Regions from separate parts of the Homo sapiens genome. Here all the other regions are linked to region 1. Evidence: promoter capture Hi-C in 16 types of primary human blood cells and fetal thymus (Javierre and others, 2016). All regions are on one chromosome and are shown on one strand. The core of a region is centred on a gene start or on the middle of the fragment in contact, and the rest is flanking DNA. Distances in the headings are between cores, read along the strand shown.

Region 1 (3,018 bases), core at 299-2,798:
TACTCCAGCATGCAGAGACTAGCGTCAGCCCTGGTCCCTGCCTCCCTCGGCATCTCAGCCCCTCTTTTCCACTCCTTCCCGTCCCCACCACCAAGCCCAGGAATCCCCTAAGCTCAGTCCCAGAGCCCGAAGGCCCCAATAACCCACCCTTCCACCGCAGTAGCACCCCTCAGCTCTCCGGACAGACACGTGGGCTCGCTGGGCAGGTTCCTTTTCCCACCTCCGCCTCCCGATTCAACTCTTCCTCGCTGTTCTTAACCCCAGACCCAGCCGGGACGCTGCTCCTGGAAGGGGCAGCCCGTAGAACCAAGAGCGCACAGGGAGGAAAGGCCGTGGTGACCCTACGCACCCAGAGATTCTTTGCCTCAGGGGTGCCGAAAAGTTTCAAAATGAAAGGGGCACAGCTGTGCAGAAGGTTAGGCCGGGAGGGACTGCGTGGGTCCTGGAGGCGCAGGAGGCAGCCGGGTAGAGGTACCTCCGGGTGCAGCGTCTGGCTGAGCTGCCAGTACTTTGGGGCAGAGGAGCCGCCGCCAACCTGCTGGGCTGTGGGGCTTGGCAGCGGGGAGCTCTTCTAGCAGTCTCCTCCGGGCTTGGGGATGCCGACACTCCTGCCTGGACCCCTGGCCAGCCCATCTTGGGCAGGAGGCAGCGGGGCTTGGCGAGAGGGGCAGGTGCCAGGGAGCGTGCCAGCCAGTCGAGAAAATGTGCCAGGGGGTGGGTAGGGCCGGGCAGGTGGCCGTGCTTCGGTGGCGGCGCGCTGGTAGGGCGGATCGCGCTCACCTGGGTCATGAGGCGGTCGGCGCCTGTGTTCTCCTCGTCCTTGAAGATGATGTCTGGATTGTAATTGGGGGTGAGCTCCTTGAAGCGCTCGGAGCTGCGAGCGATCTTGCCTTCATAGCGTCCGCTGGCGCCCAGGGTCTTCTCGGGCACATTGGGGCTGAACTGCTTGTAGGCGAGCGGCACGAGTTTGCGTGGCGGTCGCCGGCGGCTGCCCACCACCCGACCCGGCCCGCAGCCCCATGCCGCCGGCACCACCAGCAGCAGCAACAGGACCAGGCAGAAGTGCAGTCGGGGCCGGAGCCGGGCGGGAGACATGGCCGGGGAGCCCGGGGGAGCGGCGGGCGAGGTCTCCTGGTGGGCTGATGGGCAGGCGCGTCGACGGGAGCGCTGCGGGGGCTCAGGCGTCCGGGTGGCTCCGGGGGGCTCCAGGCGGGGGCGCCATGGGCGGCGTGGTGCGGCCAGGGCCGGCGGGACTCAAGTGCGGGGCGGGGGCCCAGGGCCCGAGCTGGTGGCGGCGCGCTGTCCCCCTCGGCGCCTCGACTCTGAGCTGCCGGGCTCGCCGGCCGCCAATAAATAGGCCGGCCCGTTTGTTTTGGCAACGCGGCGGCGGCGGGGGGCGGCGGGCGGCGGGGCTGCGGGCCGCCGGGCTGGGCTGGGCTGGCCGGGCCGGCGGGCTGCAGGGCCCCGCGGTTAGCACCCCGGCCCGGCGGTCAGGCGGCTCGGGCGGAGCGGGAGCTGCTGCCGTCTGCGGCGCAGCCCGGGGCCGAGTGAGAGGGGAAATGGAAGAGATCCGGGCTCGGGCCCCGCGCAGACCGCACCCTACCCATGTCCCTGCCTCCTGTGCGCTCGACAGCGAACCTGCAGCAAGGGCAGCACAGCCTCCTCCCCCTCGGGCGGGCGGCCCCGGCACTAGCCAGCCCTCGTCCCGCTCGCGCCTCCGCCGCGCGTCCGCCCGCCCGCTGCCCTCTGCGCCCCCTGCGCTGCCCGAGTTTGCCCTCCCCGCCTGGACGCGCCCCACCCCGCCCTGGCCTCGCCTACCGGCTCTTCGCGGCTCTGGGGTGCCCCGCCAGGCGCAAACCTCCCGGACAGGAGCTGCCACCCCCACGGAGACCGCAACCCACGGCGCGGCCGGACGCGAGGGGCGGGGGGCAGTGGCCGGACCGCACAGCCGCCTACGGTGTCCCCTGCGGGGAAGCAAACCCAAAAGGCAGGAGGCCACTCATAACCTGGTGCCCCACCCTGGCCCGGGCGACGCGCCCTTTCAGCTTGGTGGAGCTGGGTTCTGTATCAACCTGGTGCACATCCCACAGCCTGCCTGTCGGTGTCAAACTGGGGATGGGGAGTCTAGCCTTTTGAAGAGTCAAATAGGGGGTTTTAAGTTGGAAACACTGTTGAAAGTGACAATATGAAGTTGCAAAGGGATAGGTCAATATGCAGAGAAGGGTAGCTAAAATGGTGACGTCAACAGAATACCGAGGAACCCCGACTGACCATGTTAAAGAGGGGCAGCAAAGATCTCAGTAACGGGGGCTTGGTATGAATGCCAAAATGATGCAAAGCCACCGGAACTGCTAAATAATTACTTGGTTCTATATTACACATCTAAAAGAGCAGAGAATATGTAGAAACAACTAGGAACGTGAACATGTGTTATGTGTTTTTATATGACATTCGAGAAAGCTGAATGAATTAGGATCCCTTCTGCCAAAACAAGTAAAGGCAAGTGTGTTAAAAAGCAAACAAAAAACATCACCACCACAACACCAAACTATATGATTTGACTGTAATAGATTCTACAAATCCAATAAAGGTAGAAATGAAAAGATGAGAAATAAAAAGACTTAAAAATTCTCACTCAAATGCTATTAATACAATAGGTACCATTTTATTGGTACTTATATTCCTGAACATGGTAGTTATTAGATATTATTGTACTATGTCTTCTACTTGCATTATCTAATTTAAACTCGAAACGGCCAAAGGAGCTATTACTGTCCACATTTTACGAATGAAGATATTGAAGTTCAGAGAAGATGAACAACTTGCTAGTGGCTGAAAAGCAGGGATTGAAGCCCATGACTCTGGCCCAGCCCCAGTTTTTGCCCATGCAGGTGCATTGTCCCTCTGTGCAGGACCAGTCCACTCAACACCACTGGGTTCGGGGCTGAAGTAGCTGTTCACAGATTTACTCACACTCTCTGGATCGGTTTTATAAACACAAATTCAGGATTGGATGAG
Region 2 (3,018 bases), core at 1-2,500, 340 kb after region 1:
GTGCCGATGGGTGGGCTGCCCTTGAACTCAGTTGTTGGGCAACGTGGAGAGAATAGGGCACCAGACAGGGTTGTTTGGAAAGATTAAATCCTCCAAAGTTAGCCAAGATGATGATGAGTATTATTCTGTTAAGCCACTTGCTCGAGGTCTGGTTTGTTAGCAGACTGAGAGCAGGGGACCCTATTTCATTCATCTCTTTATCCCCATAATGCCTAAGCCAGTGCGTGGCTCATGGAAGGCTGGTGCCTAGGAACGTGTCTGCACTGGCTGGCCACAGAACTAGACAGGCCCCGGTTACCTTGTGGTAGCCATTGAGCCAGCTGTTGGGGACGAACATGATGGAGAGGCTCCGAGCCATGGTGACCTGCTCACCTCCTCCCAAGGCTGGAGTGGACAGGCCTGAACCGTGTGCCTTTTTTGCCGGATCCTTCCCCTGCCTTGGGCCCCAACTTGCAGGGCTCTCCGACATCCCTAGAGCCCATTATGACATCACCAGTGCAATTTGAAGCAGTAACATCCTCAGGGCACCCCAAGCCACAGGCTGACGTATGGTGGCCAACGTCTAAATGTTGACACCTGACCTGGGGGAGGGGTGTCTTGTATTCTGGGAGGCTAAGAATAGAGACTTTCTTCTTTCCTTGAAGAACTCCTCCCTCATTCTCTATTTTGGCCCCTTTGTTTGCTTCCTGCCAGCCAGTGCTCTAATTATTTCACTTATCCGTGTTTACTTTTTTATTATCTGTCTCTCCCATCAGAATGTGAGCTCCAGGAGGACACGACCCTCCCTGTTTCCTTGTTCCCTGCTGTGTCCCAGTACCAAGCACAGTGTCTGATATAGTAAGTGCTCGATAAAGACTTTCTGGGGCATGAAGACATGAACGAGAGGCTTCACTCACTCTGGTCATCCATTCATTTATTCATTCGAAATGCATGCCTGGTGCATCTGTTGTGGGCCAGGCTCTTGTCCACCTGAATAACTCCCATTTCTGCCCTGAGAAAGCTGCCAGCCTGGTGGCGGGTTGCTGGAGACACATCCTTTGTGTCATGCACTCTGACAGGGGCTATCTCTGAGCTCTAACAGAGATGGGGTTGCTTGGAGGAGCACGCTGTGGCAATGACAGGCTCTTAAACCAGAGCAATGGTATCTCATCTAGCAGGATTTCCCCCGCCTGATTCAGGGAGCCCCATCTGCCCCGAGGCCTCTGCCTGTGCTGACAACCACTGCTGCTTGTTTCTGCTAATATTGCAGCAGGGTGCTTCTATAGAAGCAATCTATAAAACACCATTTACAGCCATAACTGAACCACAAAAATCAATCCCGAACGCTCACTCCCATCAACAAACATGCTTTGAGGGCCTCCTGGGTGTGGGGCACAGTTTGATGGTGCCCTGGGAGTCAGAGGGATGAGCAAAATGAGGACTCTGCCCCTGGGGGAGGAGGGGTTTCGAATCTCCCAAGGGAGACAGGCCACATGGGAATGGGATAATTACTGGACTCGGCAAAATCGTGGATGCCAAGTAGAGAATGAAGGCTCTAGAACTGTGCTGGCTAGTACAGCAGCCACCAGCTATGCAGGGCTATTGAGCCCTTGACATGTGGCTACACCTTCAAGTACCTCTCACATTGAGAAATGCTATACCTATAAAACAATGTGCCACTGGATTATGTACAAAATGTATGAAATATCTCCATTTTAAGATATTGCTTACAGGTTAAAATGATAGCATTTTGGATACATTGTTAAATATACTATCATTGCTATATTAGTAACATTAATTTCACCTGTTTTTATTACTTTTTTTTTTTTGATACAAAGTCTCGCTCTGTCACCCAGGCTGGAGTGCAGTGGCACCATCTTGGCTCACTGCAATCTTCCCCTCCTGGGTTCAAGCAATTCCCCTGCCTCAGCCTCCTGAGTAGCTGGGATTATAGGTGCCTGCCACCACGCTTGGCTAATTTTTGCATTTCTAGTAGAGATGAGGTTTCTCCATGTTGGCCAGGCTGGTCTCGAACTCCTGACCTCAAGTGATCCACCCGCCTCGGCCTCCCAAAGCGCTGGGATTACAGGCGTGAGCCACTGCGCCCGACCTGTTTTTATTACGTTTTAAAATTGCAGCTACTAGAACATTCAAAATGACATACATGGCTTCCATTGTATTTCTGTGAGACAGCACTGGTCTAGGAGTAGAGGACCCAGCAGGGCACCAATAGCCTGTGTGACTGCAGCTGCAAGAATTCTGAGGAAATGGGACAATGAGGAACCTGCAAGGGGAAACTGAAGATGGGTGTGGGGAGGACAGTTGAAAAGTTTGATCATGAAGGGAAGGAGGGAGGCGGCAGTTCCGGGAGGCCACCAGGGTCCCAGGGACAATCAGTAATAGATGTTCACCAGGTCTTCCTCTCCCTCCTGCCATCTTCCAGAAAGATAGACCCTGGGCACTTGCAGACACCCCCCCACCACCCACCCCCTGCACACCCCTGGCAGTGCTCTAGAGTGAGCCTCCTTCATTTCAGTCCTTGGCAAGGGGGAGTGAGCCAGAGATGGCATTAAGCTGCATGTGGCTGCTAAGTCATGGTAAGTAACAGCCTTGGCCAGGCCATCCATTGCAAGGTGGGTTAAAAACACATCTCTCCTCCCTGACTGCCAGCTCTGGGCTCTGGGTAAAGGGCAATGGTGGGGAAGGAGAGATCAGGGATTCTGATATAGATGCAGCTGGGAGTTTGGTCAGTGTTTGAGATCAGGGAGGATTTTTCAGAGCAGCAGTGTGGCCCAGGAGGAGGAAGTCAGTTCCCTGACCTAGCCAGAGAAAGCTCCCATTATGGACACGTTTGGTCGGGGGAAATCAGGCAGCCTGGATCTGATGTTCATTTCTCTGCCTGTGCCCTCCCCCTCAGCCACACAGAGAAGCTGTAAACACTCGAATACAAGGATTAACTCTGCGTGTGGTGTCTGGGACATTATGAACAACTCTTGGTGGCTGTGTTTGTGTCTGTGTTAAATTGATCTTTTTAACCCC
Region 3 (3,018 bases), core at 219-2,718, 300 kb after region 1:
GTTCAGGTTTCTCCCTGCAAAAATTTTCTCTTACAGTTTACATTTTTCCCAGACCCAATGCCATTGCCCTTGTTCAAACCACCATCATCTTTCTTTTATTTTTATTTTTGTAAATGTTTAATAGAGACAAGATCTTATGTTGCCTAGGCTGGTTTCAAACTTCCAGGGTCAAGTGAACCTCCTGCCTCAGTCTTACAAAGTGCTGGGATTACAGGCGTGAGCCACCATGCCCAGCTGGCCATCGTCTTTCACCTGTTACAGAAATTGAATCTCATCTAGTTGCCTGGAGTAACTAATGACTTGGGGTGTGTTCTAGGAGTCTGGGATTGTGTCTGGTGTACTGTAGGTGCTCAGTCGTTCTTGTTGAATATTTGTTGTTCCACTCTTGCCTCCCTGTAATCTCTTAAGCACCAGGAGAAGCTTTCCAAAATATAAATTAAAGCATGTTATTCCCTTGCTTAACACCATCCAATGGATCACCTCATTTACACTTTTGAATAAACGCTAAATTCCCGACCATGGCCTATGAGCCCCAACGTGATCTAGCCTTGCCTTCCTCTCCAGCCTCATTTCCTTCTCTCATCTTGCTCTCTCTGTTCCCAGCCTCCTTTCCATTCTTTGAACACCTGAGTCCTTCTCAAAGGCCATTTCTGCTTCTCCCCACCCTCCATTGTTATCTCTTTGTTCTAGTATAACCCTCCCCACCAAGTAGTTTCTGGTCCCTAGGAATAATTGTCACTTCATTACCTTCATGACTCTTACCACTGTCCATGACTTCTTCGTTTTTTGTTGTTGTTGTTGTTGTTGTTTGTTTGTTTTGTTTGTTTTGAGATGGAGTTTTTGCTCTGTTGCCCAGGTTGGAGCGCAATGACGATCTTGGCTCACTGCAACCTCTGCCTCTTGGGTTCAAGCAATTCTCTTGCCTCAGCCTCCCAAGTAGCTGGGATTGTAGGCGCCTGCCACCACACCCAGCTAATTTTTGTATTTTTATTAGAGATGAGGTTTCACCATGTTGGCCAGGCTGGTCTTGAACTCTTGACCTCAGGTGATCTACCTGCCTTGGCCTCCCAAAGTTCTAGGATTACAGATATGAGCCACCGCGGCCGATGGACTTCTTCCTTTGTTTACTTGTTTATTTGCGTCTCCCCACTGGAGTGTAAATTTCAAGAGGACAGAAGACATGTCTGTTTGATTTGCTATCACATCCTCAGTGTCTGGCTCAGGACCTAGCTCAGCCTGGATGCTCCAAAATGAAACAGATTTTGGGTCCTGAGGCCCCAGATGAAACACCTCTGCCTCAGTGCTCTTATCTGTTAGATGGGCAGCTCATCAGGGTGACTGTGAAAATGAAATGAGATGATGGATATAAAGCAGCCTCGTGTTGCACAAATGCATTGTGAGTTGAATTCTAGTTCCTTTCAGCTTCAGCCTCTCTGGGTTTGTAGATTTCGGCTATGCCCCAAGGTTTCAAGGTGAAAGACCTTGAAACCCAGAAGGGCAGAGAGGCCTGGTCTGGTAGAGAATCAGGAGCAGAATCCAGGAGACCTGCCTTACAGCTCACCAGGGGGAAGGTGTGAGACAGCCCACCTGACCCCAGGGAACAAAGGCTGCCCACCTTGATAGGGAGAGGGTGGGCCACCATGCCTGTGCCTCTTCTTGGATAGCCAGTGGGGATGGTGCTATCATTGCACTGAGGCCTGCAAGACTCAGGCCACCACCCTTTGTCGGGAAACAAGGTCTTCCCTCAAGGACAGGATCACCTCTGGTGGGAATCTCCTAGAGAAGAGGCAGCTCCTCAGGCCAGGCACGGTGGCTCACGCCTGTAATCCCAGCACTTTGGGAGGCCGAGGCGGGTAGATCACAAGGTCAGGAGTTCAAGACCAGCCTGGCCAACATGGTGAAACCCCGTCTCTACTAAAAGTACAAAAATTAGCTGGCCATGGTGGCATGTGCCTGTAGTCCCAGCTACTCTGGAGGCTGAGGCAGAAGAATTGCTTGAACCCGGGAGGCAGAGGTTGCAGTGAGCAGAGATTGTGCCACTGCATTCCAGCCTGGGTGACAGAGCAAAACTCCATCTCAAAAAAAAAAAAAAAAAGAGAGAGAAGAGGCAGCTCCTCCGAGATGGGTCAGAGCTCTATGGGGAGCCCCAGGTGGGCATCTAGATGGTGAAGAGCCCAAAGACTCTAGAAGTGGGTTCTCGGGACTTGCGCATGCGTACATGTGTTTATATGTGTATACATGTGTTTATATGTTTGTGCATGGGTGTTGTGTCCATGTGTTTATATGTGTGTGCATGTGTTTGTATGAATCAATGTGTACTGTATGCATGTGTGTTTGTGTGTGCGTATGTAGGTTTGTATGTGTGGGAGATGTATTTGTGTATGTAGATGGGATGTGTGTGTCAATGTGTATATGTGTACATGTAGTGTACTTGTATTCATTGTCTATTACTTTTTTTAAAAATCCAGTTTTAGCAAAGAATATCTATGGCTTATTGCTACATGACAAATTACCCCAAAGCTTAGTCGCTTAAACTATAAACATCTATTTCACAGTTTCTGTGGACTGGGAATCTGAGAGAGGCTTAGCTGGGTATTTTTGGTTCAGGGTCTCTCTTGAAGTTGCAGTGAAGATGTTACTCAGGGTTGGCTGTAGTCTTCTGAAGGCTTGCGTGGGGCTAGAGGATCCACTTTCAAGATGACTCACCCTCCTGGCAAGACGATGCTGGCTGTTGGCAGGAGGTCTCAGTTCCCTACCACATCAGCCTCTCCATATGGCTGCTTGAGTGCCTCATGACACAGCAGCTGGCTTCCTCTGGAGTGAGTGACCTGAGAGAGAGAGAGAACCAGGCAAAAGCCACAGTGTTTTTAAAACCTAGCTTTGGAAGTCCCATGCCATCATTTCTGCCATATTATACTGGCCACAGAGACCAACCCTGATACACTGTGGGAGGGACTACACAAAGGCATGAATTCCAAGAGGTAAGGATCACTGGAGGTCATCTTGTAGGATGGCTAT

What was found. The method cuts DNA at HindIII sites, captures the fragments that hold promoters and counts their contacts. A CHiCAGO score of 5 or more calls a contact.
Region 2: a fragment that was not itself captured here is called in contact with the fragment with the promoter of IHH in region 1 in 1 of 17 cell types (total CD8 T cells); the score reaches 5.4 in total CD8 T cells.
Region 3: a contact is called between a fragment that was not itself captured here and the fragment with the promoter of IHH in region 1, in 8 of 17 cell types (erythroblasts, naive CD4 T cells, naive B cells and 5 more). The highest score is 9.1, in erythroblasts.

What each region holds. Positions count from the first base shown.
Region 1 is chr2:219,059,373-219,062,390 of GRCh38, forward strand. It overlaps IHH (Indian hedgehog signaling molecule), which reads right to left and starts at 1,549. Exons shown (of 3, transcript NM_002181.4): 1 at 781-1,549. The coding sequence starts at 1,095. It overlaps LOC124906120 (a long non-coding RNA gene), which reads left to right and starts at 2,321. Exons shown (of 3, transcript XR_007088092.1): 1 at 2,321-3,018. The HindIII fragment of the contact is 5,239 bases long and covers 1-3,018 here.
Region 2 is chr2:219,399,568-219,402,585 of GRCh38, forward strand. DNPEP-AS1 (DNPEP antisense RNA 1) reads left to right here. Exons shown (of 4, transcript NR_183823.1): 3 at 756-837. It also overlaps a transcript of DNPEP not described here. Among named protein-coding and RNA genes, the nearest start is that of DNPEP-AS1, 13 kb to the left of the region's middle. The HindIII fragment of the contact is 3,586 bases long and covers 1-3,018 here.
Region 3 is chr2:219,359,981-219,362,998 of GRCh38, forward strand. It overlaps LOC105373883 (a long non-coding RNA gene), which reads right to left. Exons shown (of 2, transcript XR_923917.3): 2 at 2,522-2,828. Among named protein-coding and RNA genes, the nearest start is that of DNPEP, 26 kb to the right of the region's middle. RefSeq lists an enhancer at 2,583-2,632. The HindIII fragment of the contact is 2,100 bases long and covers 419-2,518 here.